2 separate regions of the Homo sapiens genome follow, and region 1 is linked to region 2. Evidence: promoter capture Hi-C in 16 types of primary human blood cells and fetal thymus (Javierre and others, 2016). All regions are on one chromosome and are shown on one strand. The core of a region is centred on a gene start or on the middle of the fragment in contact, and the rest is flanking DNA. Distances in the headings are between cores, read along the strand shown.

Region 1 (4,717 bases), core at 1,944-4,443, 450 kb before region 2:
ATCACTTGAACCCGGGAGGTGGAGGTGGCAGTGAGCTGAGATCATGCCCCTGCACTCCAGCCTGGAAACTCCAGTGAAACTGCGTCTCTCAAAAAAACAAACAAAAAAAAGAGGATCTCTGCCCAGCTGCATGGTGAGTGATTAGCTGATTAGCTGACAGCCTCCATCTGTTAATTCCTTCAAGTCCCTGTCAGCTTTTGAGCTGAGCTGGATTGGCCCCAGCCAACAACTGAACAAGTGCCTAACTATTGCTGCCCAACGAGGACTCTGCTTTTCAGCACTCTCTGCTCTGGAGCCCCCCATGGGGTGACAGAGACCTTGTTAGGTTTTCATCATGGTCTGATGGTCTCCCTGGCATAACTACTTCCTTTTTCCTTGCACAGATCTTGCTCCCCAATAAACCGTCTGCACTCCTAACATCATCTCAGTGTCTTCTTTAGAGGATCAAACTTAACAGCTACCTTCTCTCTTTACTACCAACTTTCATCCTTTATATGATCTTTTATAACCCAATTAAAAACTCCAAGCTGCCGTCACTCACCTGTTTGTATAGGGGTTTCATACTTACAGTGAGTTGAATAATGTCCCCCAAAATTCATGTCCACTTGAAACCTCAGAATATGACCTTATTCAGAAATGGGGTCTGTGGGCTGGGCAGTGGCTCACACCTGTAATCCCAGCACTTTGGGAGGCCGAGGCGGGCGGATTACTTGAGGCCAGGAGTTCAAGACCAGCCTGGCCAACATGGCAAAACCCTGTCTCTATTTTTTAGCCGGGCATGGTGGCACGTACCTGCAGTCCCAGCTACTTGGGAGGCTGAGGTAGCAGATCACTTGAATGCGGGAGGCGGAGGTTGCAGTGAGCCAAGATTGCGCCACTGCACTCCAACCTAGACAATAGAGTGAGACCCCGTCTCAAAAAAAAAAAAGGGGAGGGGGAGGCTTTGCAGATGCAATTAGTTAAAATGAGGCCATACTGGAGTAGGGTGAGCCCTAAATCCAATGACTAGTATCCTTATAAAAAGGAGCAGACACACAGATATACATAGAGAATGAGGCCATGTGAAGACAGAAGCTTTGTATGGCAGGGATTGTAACCAGTTCATTTCACACCAGAGGACTTGCTATAAATCCAGAGCTCATAGTAATCTGAACTTCGAAGAACCTATAACAGTATCAGCAAAGCTCATTTTTTCAAGAGTGGAATACAGATTTCTGATTACTATTTGGAGAACAACACAGTAGCTCTTAAAATGATCTATTATGCATAGATAAAATTCTTCTATTTAATTTCAATCTGACAATACAATATAGTGTTTCCTTTTATAGCAGCCACTCTTTCCAGACCTCTAGTTCCACAATGAAGAGGACATAAGGAGCTTAAAGGTTTTGGGTGTCTATCAGGGCAACTGCTTTCCGGTAAGAATTTCCATCCTTTAAAGACATTGATTGAGTCCCATATCCAGAAAGATCTACATGTATGGAAACTCTTATTAAGTCTAGAGAGTTTCTCTAAGCTTTGTTAGGCTCTTTCTACTAGCACCCTACAAACTCTTGAGCAAAGCTCCTGGGTATGGCACTTAAAGGATTTTCAGTGTCTGTTTGCTATAGAATTAGCAAATGAATTAGGAAGACAGAAACAGTCTCTAAAATCAAAGACTTAGCCCAGGAGCCTCAGCCACTTTACCAGACACTTTTCTCTCTGCATCCATTAGGGAACAGTAGTCCTCTTTACATGGCTTAAGAGTCCATTTGTCAAGTGGAGATATTGTATATCCATTTTGTATTATATATCGTCAATAGTGTAAAGCTCTGTGGATGGCTGTTTTCACTGTAGTAATTTGATTTTTGATTTAAAGAGTCTGTCTTATTGAAACTTCGTGGTAGATATATGATTGTTCAATGTATTTTCTTTTAACTTTTGTGTATGTTTGACATTTTTCGTAATAAAAATTGGGAAAAATAATCATAAAAGTTGGGAAAAATAATCAGTGAACTTAGTACAGTTGAGAAGATTGCTAGGATTCTTGGCCTATCTTAAAACAGGCTGCAGTAGTCACTCTCTTATTCAGCTCCACTGCCATCCCCAGTGAGGTTCTTACTCAGAACCTATGCATCTTTCAAAAGAAAGGACTCATGAGAAACCCAGGATCAGATTTAAATTTACTTGATAAGAGAGGAAGCACTGTATGACTCACAATGCACATGTATATCCAAATACCTATAAATTATAGTGTGTTAGATACTAAAGATACCTAATTTTATACTAAATTTTACATTTGTCCACATTTAAGTAGTATTTTAATACAAATAATTTAAGTCAAAATTAAATGGTCATGAAATTTTTTTTTTTTTTTTTTTTTTTGAGACGGAGTTTCACTCTTGTTGCCCAGGCTGGAGTGCAATGGTGCCATCTTGGCTCACTGCAACCTCCACCTCCCGGGTTCAAGCGATTCTCTTGCCTCAGCCTCCCGAGTAGCTGGGATTACAGGCATGCGCCACCACACCCAGCTAATTTTGTATTTTTAGTAGAGATGGGGTTTCACCATGTTGGTCTCAACTCCTGACCTCAGGTGATCTGCCCGCCTTGGCCTCCCAAAGTGCTGGGATTGCAGGCATGAGCCACTGAGCCCGGCCAATTTTTTTTTTTTTTGAAACGGAGTCTCGCTCTGTGGCCCCGGCTGGAATACAGTGGCATGATTTCAGCTCACTGGAAACTCTGCCTCCCGGGTTCCAGCAATTCTCCTGCCTCAGCCTCCCGAGTAGCTGGGATTACAGGCGTGTACCACCACGCCCAGCTTTTTTGTATTTTTATTAGAGACGGGGTATCACCATGTTGGCCCAGCTGGTCTCGAACTCCTGATCTCAGGTGATCTGCCCTTCTTGTCCTCCCAAAATGCTGGAATTACAGACGTGAGCCACTGCGCCAGCCCAATTTTATTTTATTTATTTTATTTTTCTTTTCTTTTAAAGGAACCAGCTGGGTGCAGTGGCTCACGCCTGTAATCCCAGCACTTTGGGAGGCCGAGGCGGGCATATCACAAGGTCAGGAGTTCGAGACCAGCCTGGCCAATATGGTGAAACCCCGTCTCTACTAAAAATACAAAACATTAGCCAGGTATGGTGGCGGGCGCCAGTGGTCCCAGCTACTCCGGACGCTGAGGCAAGAGAATCACTTGAGCCCAGGAGGTGGAGGTTGCAGTGAGTTGAGATTGTGCCACTGCACTCCAGCCTGGGCAACGGAGCGAAACTCCATCTCAAAAAAATAAATTAATTAATTAAAAAAAAAGGAACCATACATCACTTAAGTATGAGAAACAAAAATACATGTTAGTTGAAGATTCAAGGGGTAGTATTCTAAAAGGCCACATGATGGCGATGTTCCCTCAATAAACATTTCCTTATGCCACCTCTTCTCACTGTGTGCATCGGCTTTCTATCAGTATCAATACACGGAGTTGATAGCTATCATAAATATTGATTGTATTAGTTTTGAGTTTTTAGAGTCAAACATCATTGCATTAGATATGCCTTCCAGCTTTGTGTCATCTATACGTTTGTTAGGCATGCATTTAACAATTTCCTCCAAGTTACCAATAAAAATGTAGAACAAAAGTGGGCAAAATAACATGTCCTGTGGAGTCCGGGCATGGTGGCTCACGCCTGTAATCCCAGCACTTTGGGAGGCTGAGGCAGGCAGATCACGAGGTCAGGAGTTCAAGACCAGCCTGGCCAACATGGTGAAACCCCGTCTCTACTAAAAATAAAAAAAAATTAGCCAGGCGCAATGGCAGGTGCCTGTAATCCCAGCTACTCTGGAGGCTGAGGCAGAAGAATCGCTTGAACCAGGGAGGCAGAGGTTGCAGTGAGCTGAGACCGTGCCACTGCACTACAGCCTCGGCGACAGAGTGAGACTCTGTCTCAAAAAAAAAAAAAAAAAAAGTCCTGTGGAATGCTATAAAGGTCTTCGCCCAGGTTTGACAAGAATCCACTAAATATTCTGTAGACAAAAATTCCAACCAACGTAGATTAAAATGTTAGCCTATACTGGAGGAATAAAAAATGTGGGTCAATTGACAAAACTGCAGTAGGAATGGTAGATTATAGAAGTATTGTATCCATGTTAAATTTATTAAAGTTGCTATCTGTGCTATAGTTGTGGGCAAGAGTATCCTCGTTCTTAAGAAATACACATTGAAGTCTACGGCCATACCACCCTGAACGCGCCTGATCTTGGCTGATCTTGGAAGCTAAGCAGCGTTGAGTCTGTTTAGTACTTGGATGGGAGAACAAACACACATTGAAGTATATGGGTTTAAACGGCTGTGGATATGTACAATTCATTCTCAAATGGTTCAGAAAAAAATACTACATGTATATGTGTGTGGGTGAGGGTTGAAAGAGGAAAAACAGAGTGCAAAATGGGGTAACATGTTAACAACGGTTGAATTTTAGTAAAGGGGATATGGGCGTTATATGTTATTATATGTTATCATACTCATTCTTGTAACTTTTCTGTTAATTTGAATGTTTGCAGACAAAATAATTTTAAAACAATTATTATTTATCTTCCCTAAGTTCTATGCTTAAAATTCGGATATTTGAATTTAAGAGCAAGAAACGCCTATTAAAACTGTCTTTTGGCTATTTGGTTTGTCTAGTTTATACTAACATAATGCTTAAATAAATACTAAAAGTACTGACATTTGACAATGCTT
Region 2 (4,688 bases), core at 340-2,839:
AGGTAACGGACCCGCCCAAGGCCACCCGCTAGTTACCAGGGACCTTGGTCGGGTTCACAGTGTATCCAACACCGGGGCCCCGGCCTGGCCCATGGCAGATGCCGGGGACCGCGGATCCGACGTATCTACGGTCCATTCCCGTTTCCACTCACCTTGCGCCGCCGCCGGTGCGGCTCGCCGACCGCACCTAGCAGTGTGTGCGAGCCCAGCAGGATGTGCGCACTCTGCGGCCACTGGCTGCGCACCAGGCGGTGCTCGCCCAGCAGGATGGTGCGCACGTTCTCCGCGCCGCTCACGCGGATCACTGGCCTGCCCAGCAGGTGCGTCTTGAACACTGTCCCATAGCGCTCTCGGCGAGAACTGTGGAAGCGCGAGCCCTGCGGGCGAGGCGGAGGGTGGAGAGCTGGAACTTCTGGGCCTGGGCTGGGATCTGACCCAGACCTTCCAGCTGCCTTTTGATCACAACTTCCTGTCCCTGGCTGGCGCGTTTACAAAACAAGATCCCCAGTGGGCCTGGTATCTACTCTACGGGAATGTACATGCTCCTGTTCCTATTGGTGAGATGAGGAAACAGACTCAGAGTGAAGAAGTGAGGGCCCAAGGGCTCACAGCTGGGCCAAGCTCCAGGCTCCTTTTCTACCCTTGCAGGACGTGCTCCTCAGACCCCTTCCTAAAACCCCTTATGTTTACCCCCTGCGTTGTGTCTGGGAGTTGCTCTGGGGGGAATTCCAGTGACTTGAGGTCCCTTCGAGGGAACGGAGTATCTAGGTAAAGGCGAGAGTTGTGCGCGCTTCCCGGGGTCGTGGGCGATGGGCAGGGACTGGCTACAAATCCCATGGGCATTGAGACTGAGGAGGGTCCAGTGGGAGCCGGGGGAAGAAGGGACCGTATTAGCGCTCGGGGTCGAAGGACTGCTCACCTGAACTAACCAGTGCAGCGTTTCGCCGAAGAAGGGCCACCCCATGGAGCCCTTGGGCAGAGGCAGGGTGGAGGCCCGGTCCCGGCTCAGCATCCAGCGGAGGGTCCAGAGGTGCTGGGCCAGGCTGAGCAGCAGGCCCGCGCACAGGAGAGCAGTGCCCGCCGCCCCCAGCACTGACAGGCAGCTCAGCCCCCAAGGGAACATGATGAGCCCGCGGGGGCCAGGCCGCTCAGAGCGCAGGGAGAGCAGGGGACGCAAGAACCGGGGCGCGAGCAGTGCGCAGTGCTCACCTGTTCCGTCCGCAAAAGGCCTGGGGTTTGGGGGCAAAGCCCGAGATTTATAAGCTCAGGCCAGAACTCTGTTCTAAAAACAGACGGACGGTGAAAGACTGCAGTGACCGTGCGCCCTTAGGGAACGTGCCTTCCTCGAGGCCGGCACGCTCAGGACTTTTTCCTGGCTCCTGGGCCCAAATGCCAGTCCCTCTCGAAGGTGCCTGCTGCCTCGGGAACGCTCACTCCCGGCTCCGCGGGGCACCTCCCACCTCCTCCCGGGCTCAGCACCCTTTGGATAGAAGAAGGGAAGGAGGGCGAAAGAAGAGCAACTCACCAGTGTTGCCAACCTGGTCTGCAGACCCCCGCCCCACCTGTCCCTCCTCCAGTCGTTTAACCCTTCTTGGCCCACGCTGGACACGTTTATATAGATATTGGCTCCCCCCCTACGGACCGATCCCGGTTCACACAACGTGACGTGTCTTTGCATATTTAAAGCGCTCCACGCAGAGTGGTGATTGGAGGCGGTGGGCAGCGGCGCGCTCACGGAGGGGCTCTGAGTAGGGAGTGGCAGGCGCCGGGGCGGCTCGAGCTGGGCTGGGGGCTCGCCCCGCGAGCGTCCTCGGGCGGGGCCTGCGGGTTCGCGCCAGAGCTTCCCCGCTCTTCGCAGGCGCTCAGAAAGTGGGCGAACCCAACGCGCAGAACTGACCCGGGCTTGCGCCCCGCAGTGCTCCTGGCCCACCCCCGGCCGCTGGCTCCCTCTGCCGTCCCCGCCCTCGAGCTTCTAGGTGCCTTTCTCTCGCCACTCCAAGGTGAAAGAACTGGGCTTTTCTCTCCTTTGCTCCGACTATTTCAGGGAAACTGCAGTCGTCGACGCCTGCGTTGGCATCGCAAAAGCCCAGGAGGGATAGCGCAGCCGAGATTCTCCGACAGCTCCCCACCTCTCCCGGCTCTCTGATCTACCACGTCAGGTATCCTTCCAAAGATGGCAGTTCCACTACTGCCCTAGGCTTCATAAAGACGTCCTAAGCCTCCAGAAGCGGATACCCACGAGCACCTTTCCGGTCTCAAGGACCGAATTCATCCTTCCCTGCACATCCTTCCCTCCCTCCCCCGAGTTTGCCCGACGACTCTTGTCAATCTACATTGTTGCGTTTTGGGCTTTGTGCGTCCCATTCAAGGGTTCCAAATGCCTCAGGACTCACTCGTTCTTGTCCCTACAGTGCAACCTGGGGTGTGTGTGGAGGGGTGCAGGGTGTTTATATTATTGGTAAGAGTAAAGAGGTCCCACAGTGGTCTCCTCCAGGCAGTGCAAAGGCAGTATCTCTCTGAATCCCGGGACGTCTCAGCCAAAGCAGGGAAGACACCCCAAGTACGCTGGAAGGCTGGGTAAGGCGCGAAGGGCAGCCCCATTCCAGTCTTCAAAGAGAGCTAGCTGTTCACCGCTCCTCTCCTCCAGATTTCACCGTGCCTGAAGAACTACCATGCTTTTCATGTAATATTTTTAAAAACATTAAATACTTTGGATTAAGAGATGATCGAGAGAACAAGTGCGCATATGTATATATATGTGTGTGTGTGTGTGTGTGTATGTATATATACTGTTTTGGTGCCACTCCCATTCCAGTAACTAGGAAATAATATGCCTTTTCTCCAGGAAGCACTTGTTTTAAATCAGTAAGCTCTGAATAGACAAAATAGTAATGCATTTTCAACAACTTGCTCAATATTTTTAATATTTCATCACAAAATCCAGAGATGTACATATAATTCTTTACACTTATTTTACAGAATCAGGCATAGTTTCTTACAGGCCTAAATCCTGAAAAGGCAAAGGGAAGATTCAGCATAAATACAACAAAGGGAGAATAAAGACTGGATTTATATTGCCATTTGGACCACGGAAACATACACAAAGGAAAATGTACATTTGTTTTAGGTTTTCCAGAGTTCATTTGGTTTGGCTTGTTTCCACAATGAGGATAAAGTACTGAAATCTGCTATTTGAAGAAAGTAACCTGACCCCTGTGGTAACTTCTGTGTGCAGGAACCATCTACCCTCGCACAAGCTGCACCTGAAGTGGTTAGCCCCATTTAGTTCCTGTCCTCTCTTTTAACTGGAACCAAACCAAACCAAACAAATCCAGAATGGGGTCACCTACAAGCAATATAGTTAGAAATATTAACCCTGATGAACAGAAACAACACTGCATCTTTAGAAAATCCAAAACCTTTTGTTCATATTCAGAACGATTAAATTAAACCACCCAAGTAGAACAAATAATTCACATTCTTACTGAGTTAAATCAAGTTTGATTTCAGGCAGCTTTTAAGATTTGTCTATTTCCCCTTCAGAATTAGCAGAATTAGAAATTTTGGTCTGCTTAAATCACATTGAGGTGAAAATAAAAGCTAAAAGTCAGAAAATGGTAGTGAAATACTACCATATCAGACATGATTGAATTCCAAAGCCATATACTGATCAAAAAACAGATTATCATTCAAGTCTAAATAGAAAAAAATACTTATGAGTAGAGGCATATGTTTTTCAAATGTATTTGTAATCAATTTCATGTATAATTTGTGACAATTTATGTATTACACTTTTGCATTTTCCCCTAAAAGTGAAAAAATGGTCATTTTTTTCCATATATAAAATAGTATTCGATTATTTAAAAATCCATACAAATGATATTTATTACTATTTCTTGTTTAAGCCCTCATGTATCTTCTCTATTGTATTTTTGGATTCTGTAAACAAATTACTGTATCATGACCAATACTTGCTCAAGATCAACATTGAATCATGGATTTGGTGTCACTGAGTGCAAGCCATGTGAGGTCTACATGTGCTGGGACATACCATTCACCAAACTTCTCAGCTGTTTCACGACTGTCTCTATCAACTTCTGTTTGTCTCGATCATTCTTCCTGAACTGAGCAAATATATTGTTCTTTTTGCTAGTATCCTTCATCCTAGAAACATATGTGAATGAAGAAGCTTGGTAAAAGAAAATTAAAAGCTAAGCTGTCACAAGTAAAATATCTTGGCATGCTCTGAATTATCCCACACTAATCCTATGCTTGAAAAATATAGTTCAAAGAAAGTAGATACTAAATAAACATACAGATATAGTAACCATGCAAAAAATTAGAAGCTTTATTTTACATTCTATGTTAAGTGGTATTTTTGCATTAGTATGTACATCTAAAATATGCTAGGTTTACTACTATCATACTATTTTCTAATATTATTCCACAAAGTATGCTAAAATACATACCCTGTATAGACTCTGCTAATCATATTCATAGCAAGATAAGGTGAAAGGAAAATAACATTAGAAAATGTAAAATAGCGATGTTTTTGCCTCAGTTGCATTTCATGGCATTGTAAAATAAATTTACATTTATTTTAAACACTTCCTCTTGTCCTTTCAAATCAAATACACCACAAATATTTTGAAATATAGGAAAATAATAACAATTTTAATTTAAAATTG

Evidence for each region. The method cuts DNA at HindIII sites, captures the fragments that hold promoters and counts their contacts. A CHiCAGO score of 5 or more calls a contact.
Region 1: a fragment that was not itself captured here is called in contact with the fragment with the promoter of CYP26C1 in region 2 in 4 of 17 cell types (endothelial precursors, M2 macrophages, M1 macrophages and 1 more); the score reaches 10.5 in endothelial precursors.

What each region holds. Positions count from the first base shown.
Region 1 is chr10:93,510,162-93,514,878 of GRCh38, reverse strand. All of the region lies in intron 4 of CEP55 (centrosomal protein 55), which reads right to left. It also overlaps the pseudogene RNA5SP323. Among named protein-coding and RNA genes, the nearest start is that of CEP55, 16 kb to the right of the region's middle. RefSeq lists a silencer at 3,233-3,527. The HindIII fragment of the contact is 3,350 bases long and covers 1,519-4,717 here.
Region 2 is chr10:93,057,699-93,062,386 of GRCh38, reverse strand. CYP26C1 (cytochrome P450 family 26 subfamily C member 1) reads right to left here and starts at 1,589. Exons shown (of 6, transcript NM_183374.3): 1 at 920-1,589; 2 at 153-377. The coding sequence starts at 1,123. It overlaps EXOC6 (exocyst complex component 6), which reads right to left. Exons shown (of 22, transcript NM_019053.6): 22 at 2,897-4,164. The coding sequence ends at 4,032. RefSeq lists an enhancer at 662-1,571. The HindIII fragment of the contact is 6,240 bases long and covers 1-4,191 here.